Linked DNA regions of Homo sapiens: region 1 is linked to region 2. The links are contacts of gene promoters, found by promoter capture Hi-C in human tissues and cell types (Jung and others, 2019). All regions are on one chromosome and are shown on one strand. Each heading gives the region's core, a stretch centred on a gene start or on the middle of the fragment in contact. The rest is flanking DNA. Distances are from core to core; before and after follow the strand shown.

Region 1 (3,324 bases), core at 49-2,548, 1.2 Mb after region 2:
ATGATACTTGATCCATTTTGGCATTAACCTTAAGAGTTTTCTATATCTTTCTCATTATTAGGATTTTCCTTCACTATGGACACTCTGATGCTGACTGAGCTGGAAGCTAAACCTGAATGCTTTCCCACACACACTACACATATAGGGTTTCTTCCAAGTGTGGACTGTCTGATGTATAATGTAGTCAGAACTAAAGCTGAAGCCTTTGCCACATTCCACACATCTGAAGGGTTTCTCCCCAGTGTGGCTTCTCTGATGCCGAATTAAATGGGCATTAACATGGAAGGCTTTTCCACACTCCTTACACTGAAAGGGTTTCTCTCCTGTATGGATTCTCTGGTGCACAATATAGTTAGAACTACAGCTGAATGCTTTCTCACATTCCATACATTTGAAAGGTTTCTCCCCAGTATGTATCCTCTGATGCCTAGTTAGTTTGGCATTGATACTGAAGGCTTTCCCACATTCCTTACATTGATAGGGCTTTTCTCCAGTATGGATTCGGTGATGATCAAGTAGGTTTCTTTTAGAAGTAAAGCATCTCCCACACTCATTACATTCAAAAGGTTTCTCCCCAGTGTGAATTCTCTGATGCCGCATTAGTTTCCCATTAACGCTGAAGGCCTTTCCACACTCATTACACTCATAGGGCTTCTCCCCAGTGTGAATTCTCAGATGCTGCCGAAATTGGGAGTTACATCTGAAGGCTTTCCCGCATTCATTACACTCATAGGGTTTCTCGCCTGTGTGAATTCTCTGGTGTTGGATTAACTTCCCTTTGACACTGAAGGCTTTTCCACATTCAGTGCATTCATAGGGTTTCTCACCTGTGTGGATTCTCTGATGCTGAATGAGTTTTGTATTATTATTGAAGCCTTTTCCACACTCTTTACACTGATAGGGCTTTTCTCCTGTGTGGATGCTCTGATGCTGCCTAAGCTGGGAGCTGCACCTGAAGCCTTTTCCACATTCATTACATTCATAAGGTTTCTCTCCAGTATGGATTCTCTGATGTTGAATTAATTTTGCATTAACATTGAACGCTTTCCCACAGTCATTACACTCGTAAGGTTTCTCTCCAGTGTGGACTCTCTGATGTGTAATATATGCAGAACTACAGCTGAAGCCATTTCCACATTCCTTGCACTGATAGGGCTTCTCTCCCGTATGGATTCTCTGATGCCTACTTAGGCTTCCATTAACACTGAAGGCCTTCCCACACATCTTACACTGATAGGGCTTCTCCCCACTGTGGATTGTCTGATGTGTGATATAATGGGAACTGTAGCTGAAGCTTTTCCCACACTCCACACATTTGAAGGGTTTCTCCCCACTGTGAAGTCTCTGATGCCAAATTAATTTCTCATTAATGCTGAAAGCTTTGCCACACTCCGAACACTGATAAGGCTTTTCCTCAGTGTTGTTCTCTTGATGTTGAATAAGTTGAGAGTCACACCTAAAGGGCTCTACTAATTCTTCACATTTGAAAGGTCTTTCCTCAGAATTAATTATTTCATGCTTCACGAGTTTTGTATCAAAGCTGATGGATTTCCCCAATCCTGTACACCCAGAGGGCTGCTCTCCAGTGATGGTATGACACTGATATGAGTTTGAACTTTGACTAAAAAAACACTCCTCCACGGGGCTTGTCTCATCTTTCACTGTTCCATCAATGGTGTTGCTCTTCTCCTTCTTTATATTTCCTGCTGAGTGGACTTCCTGTTGTTTCTCTAGAAGAGAGGCTTCTGAAAAGTCTGTTTCCTGGGAAAAGTCTCTTTGAAGTTCAAATGATACATTCTCTTTTCCTTCATACATTTCCTTTGTCAAATCATTGTCAGTCTGAATATCTACTATAAAAAACAGAAAACATAAAATGTCATGTAAGAACCATGTTAGGAAAAAGAAGAGAACTGTGCTATAAAAGACCATAATAATCAGGGGGCTCCTTAAAATCACCAGACTAGGTCAAAAAACATAGGGTTTCTCCATAAGGTGGGATAAGTAATTTGTAACTAACTAGTAAAAGAATACAATAAATCCATATATGCTGACGTAAAAAGACATCCAAGATACAATCAAATGGAAAAACAAGTTGAAAAAACAGTATATAGAATAGATTTTCAGCTGTGTAAAGAAAAATATAAAAGACAGATATATATATTTGTACATACCTAGAAAACTTCTAGAAGAATCCATAAGAAACTAAATAAACTGGCATAGGAAGTTTAGTGGACTTGCTTCCCTACTTTATACACTTTCTGTACTGTTGAATAGGTGTCAATATTATGAAAGTAATGAAAAGCAATGAAAGTAATGATAAAAAAAAAATCACCATTCCCACTGTGCCTAATACAAGGCCACTGTAGAGAACATAACCAATCACATGAAGGTTAAAAGTGACAGCTGGGCACGGTAGCTCACACCTGTAATCCCAACACTTTGGGAGGCTGAAGCAGGCAGATTGCCTGAGCTTGGGAGTTTGCAACCAGCCTGGGCAACACAGTGAAACCCCGTCTCTACTAAACCACAAAAAATTAGCCGGGTGTGGTGGTACGTGCCTGTAGTTCCAGCTACTCGGGAGGATGAGGCAGGAGAATTGCTCGAACCCGGGAAACGGAAGTTGCGGTGAGCCAAGTTCTTGCCACTGCACTCCAGTTTGGGCGACAGAGCGAGACTCCATCTCAAAAAAAAAAAAAAGTGACAGTAGTGGAATAAAATTCTAGGTCTTGTCCACCAGCTCAGCATTCTTTTAATCACACCATGCTTTTCTACACCCTGCAGTTTCTTCTTAGTTGTTCCTATAGCACTCAGTTCCTTACTTAAAAAAAAATGGAAAATGCTGAAGAAGGAAAAGGCACAGGATCCAACAGAATATGGCAACTTGGAAGATGACAACAGTCAGCAGCACCAGGGAGCAAAATGGAAATAATTTTGTTTCTTTCCTTAGAACATTAACTGTGGGCTTTCCAAAATTTGTCCTTCAACTTCATTTCTACTTTAGACAGGCTCTATTTGAGGTCCATCTCATCCCCTTTCTTCCCATTCCCCTCCAAATACTGCTGCATTAACCTTGCCTTTTCCTTTCACTTCTTCCTCTAATCCTAAACTTGATCATTCCCTAAAAATCTTTTTATAATCCCAATAGTCTTTAGAACTAGAACTACTCATCTCTGCATTTGTTCCCAACTTTCTCAAAAGCTCAGTCCCAAAATGCTGCCTCATATTTTTTCATCTTTCATCACTCCTCAACCACATGTAATATGCCCCCTGCCCCAGTATTTCATAATTGCCCTCAATAAGCCCCTCCAATTGCCTGGATTCCCC
Region 2 (3,693 bases), core at 175-2,674:
GCAGACTAGAGTGCAGTGACACAAACACTGCTAACTGCAGCCTCAACCTCCTGGGCTCAAGTGATCCTCCCACCTCAGCCTCCCAAGTAGCTGGAACTGCAGGCATGTGCGACGACACCTGGCTAATTTTTAAATTTTTCTTGTGTAAGGATAAGGCCTCGCTATGTTGTTGTTTTCAAACTCCTGGATTCAAGCGATCCTCCCACCTCCACCTCCCAAAATGCTAGGATTACACATGTGAGCTACTGTGCCTGGCCAATCCTGGCACTTTGGGAGGTGGAGGTGGGAGGATCACTTGAGCTCAGGAGTTTGAGACCAGCCAGGACAACACAGCAAGATCTGTCTCTATCTTAAAAAAACAAAAGGCCGGGTGCAGTGGCTCACGCCTGTAATCCCAGCACTTTGGGAGGCCAAGGCAGGCGGATCACGAGGTCAGGAGATTGAGACCATCCTGGCCAACATGGTGAAACACCATCTCTATTAAAAATAGAAAAACTAGCTGGGCATGGTGGCGCATGCTTGTAATCCCAGCTACTTGGGAGGCTGAGGCAAGAGAATTTCTTGAACCCAGGAGGTGGAGGTTGCAGTGAGCCGAAATCGTGCCACTGCACTCCAGCCTGGGCGACAGAGCCAGACTCAATCTCAAAAAACAAACAAAAACCCAAGTGCTGAGATTACAGGCATGAGCCACCACACCTAGCTCTATTTAATTATTTTACTATTTTAATTTTATTTATTTTTTTCCTAGACAGAGTTTTGCTCTGTCACCCAGGCTGGAGTGCAGTGGCCCTGTCATGGCTCACTGCAGCCTAGACCTCCTGGGCTCAAGTGATCCTTCCGCCTCGGCCTCCAGAAGTGCTGGGATTACATGCATGAGCCACCGCACCGTCTGTTTTCTTCCTTTTTAACATTCTCCTGATTCTACAACGCTTACATAGGAGAGCTGCAATTCCTCCTCTTGGGGTACAAATTTATGAGTGCAGGTGCAGTTTTGTTACATGCCTAACAAGATTGCATAGTGGTCAAGTGGACTTTTAACCAAATGGGTTGTCAGGGCTGATTGCCAACATCTGGACATTTTAAATTACCAATCTGAAAAGGGAAACAGCTCTGTGCTTGTTTTGCATTTTGGTGACTATTGGTAATGGTTTTCTGTTTTGATATATTCAATCTGTTCAATCTGTATTAGTGCCTACTCTGCCACTGTGTTGGGCGGGAATCTGATTTTGTTCTTTGGTTGGAGATCCAAGTTAACCAGAGCTTAGGCATTTTAAGATAACTACCTCAGCTTGATAGGAAAGCTTGCTCTGCCCGGGGTTGAGGGGTACGGGTCTGAGGGCAACAGAATCGACAGCCTCAAGTGGGCAAAGGGTGGCCAAACAGGAGTGGCCTCCGACGTCACTGTGGCGCGCCGCTTCCGGTCTGCAGCCTTGTAGTGGGGCTGGAGCAGAGCCTGCCGCGAACCCCCGGAGCCCACGATCCCTCGTGCCATCCCTCGAATCCACCAGCACGAGCGTCCCACCCGCGCCTGGGACCATGGCCACTGACTCATGGGCCCTGGCGGTGGACGAGCAGGAAGCTGCGGCTGAGTCGGTGAGTTGGCTTCAGCCCTAAAAGGGTCAGGGGACTAGTTCTGGTCGGAGACTTGGTCCCTGGGAAAGAATGTTTCCCAGGTTGATTAGAGGCTGGATGGGGTGGCGGGGAGGATAGGGATGGAGCCTGGACCCTGAGCTGGCTTTGTTTACGCAGCCGCCTCCGCGTTACGTAAGCGCAGGTGAGTGCTCCTATCGGTAAAGCGCTCAGCTGCCTGTCTGTCTTCCTGGAACCAGGAAGAATCATAGATTGCACCCATCACCCTAGATTGTGTTTTGTTTGTTTTTAATTGAAATAGAGACATGGTCTTGCTAGGTTGCCCAGGCTAGTCTGGAACTCCTGGTCTCAAGCTATCTTCCTGCCTCGGCCTTTCAAAGCACCAGGATTACAGGCTGAGCCATTGTTCCTGGCCGCCCCGGTTTGTAATAGTTATTTTAGGTGTCATTCTCCACCTCTACATTCAGAGCTTCTTTGGCTCAGGGACCATGTCTTTGCTCATATTTGTGTGCTTCCTCAGTGATAAATGATGGACCCAGTAGGTGTGGCAGTCAGCAAATCCTTTCCTCATCGGCTTCACTTTGTTCTTTTTTTCTGGACCTGACACATGGTAAGCAAGAGATGTGTTAAACACTACTGCGTAGAATTAATTTCTCCCACCGAAACACTTTAAATCCTAGTAGGCTTTGAACCTACTTCTGTTAGTACTTATTGCTATGACTTCCTCAAGAATAAGAACCTTGTCTTTTATTTTTTATAGCTCATAAAAAATAAGTTGTATATACACATTGTTTAAAGAGTGAAGTTATTTTAAAAACAACGGTTCCCGCCAATTTTTTTCCTCCCCAGAGGCAACTCCTTTTTTTTTTTTGGAGACAGGGTCACACTCTGTTGCCCAGGCTAGGGTGCAGTGGAGTGATCTTGGCTCACTGCAGTCTCTGCCTCCCAGGCTCAAGCCATCCTCCCACCTCAGCCTCCTGAGTAACTGGGACTGTAGTCATGTGCCACTATGCCCAACTACTTTTTGTATTTTTTTTGTAGAGATGGGGACTTGCCATGTTGCCCAGGCTGGTCTCGAACTCCAGCGTGCAAGTGATCCACCTGCCTCAGCCTCCCAAAGTGCTGGGATTACAGGTGTGAGCCACTGCATCCAGCCTCTTTTTTCTGTTTCTTTCTTTCTTTACATATATTTTTTGAGAGAGGGTCTTGCCCTGTCACCCAGGCTGGAGTGCATTGACACCATCTCTTGCCAACTACAACCTCCCCTTCCCAGGCTCAAGTGATCCTCCCACCTCAGCTTCCTGAGTAACCGGGACTACAAGCATGTGCCAACATATGCAGCTAACTTTTTAATTTTTTGTGAAGACGAGGTCTCACTATATTACCCAGGTTGGTCTTGACCTGCTGGGCTCAAGCCATCCTCCCACCTCGGCCTCCCAAAGTGTTGGGATTATAGGCCTGAGCCACTTTGCCTGGCCCTTTACTTTTCTATAAAATTTATTTTACTTGGAATTCTTAATTGCCTTATGTTTATGCTTCATTTTTTTTTCTTAATTATCAATTCAACCCCAAACTGTCTTCCAGTTGTCTAAGTTTATCTCAGGATGCTTAGACTCATCAAGTATTCTATCAATTCCATTTCTCCTAGGCCTTTAAGTCTGCTTCAAATTGGACTAGTTACTCCTGTCTTTAGAGCACAGTTCATATTGGGGAATAGAGGGAACAGGGCAAATTTCCCTTCAGCCTCATTCTGCAGATTCCTTCCTCCTTTCTCTTGTCTTTTGGATCTCTTGGATCCCTTCCTTTCTGTACCCCTACTTTTCCATCTTTCTTGATTTATTCCTTATTTTAGTGCAGCCATCTGTCAGCTTTCTGGAGGTGTACGGGAAGTAAATTACTTTAAGAATATTCCATGTCTTAAAAAATCTAACTTTGCCCTGTAATTTGGATAATAGTTTGGCTGGGTATAGAATTGTAGGTTGAAAATTATTTTCCTGCCAAATTTTAAATGTATTGTTCCATTGCCTTCTAGATTTCTGTATTTGTTGTTGAAATGTTTGAGACCATCCTGATTCTTGATGTGACTTGTTTTCCCCTTTCTAA

What was found. The method cuts DNA at HindIII sites, captures the fragments that hold promoters and counts their contacts. A contact is called where the count stands out against the background at its distance.
Region 1: a fragment that was not itself captured here is called in contact with the fragment with the promoter of DDX19B in region 2 in 1 of the 25 tissues and cell types used here (aorta).

The regions. Positions count from the first base shown.
Region 1 is chr16:71,448,036-71,451,359 of GRCh38, forward strand. ZNF23 (zinc finger protein 23) reads right to left here. Exons shown (of 5, transcript NM_001381984.1): 5 at 1-1,850. The coding sequence ends at 58. Among named protein-coding and RNA genes, the nearest start is that of TLE7, 7.6 kb to the left of the region's middle. The HindIII fragment of the contact is 5,546 bases long and covers 1-3,324 here.
Region 2 is chr16:70,297,762-70,301,454 of GRCh38, forward strand. DDX19B (DEAD-box helicase 19B) reads left to right here and starts at 1,425. Exons shown (of 12, transcript NM_007242.7): 1 at 1,425-1,593. The coding sequence starts at 1,537. RefSeq lists enhancers at 1,245-1,539, 1,271-1,500. The HindIII fragment of the contact is 9,873 bases long and covers 589-3,693 here.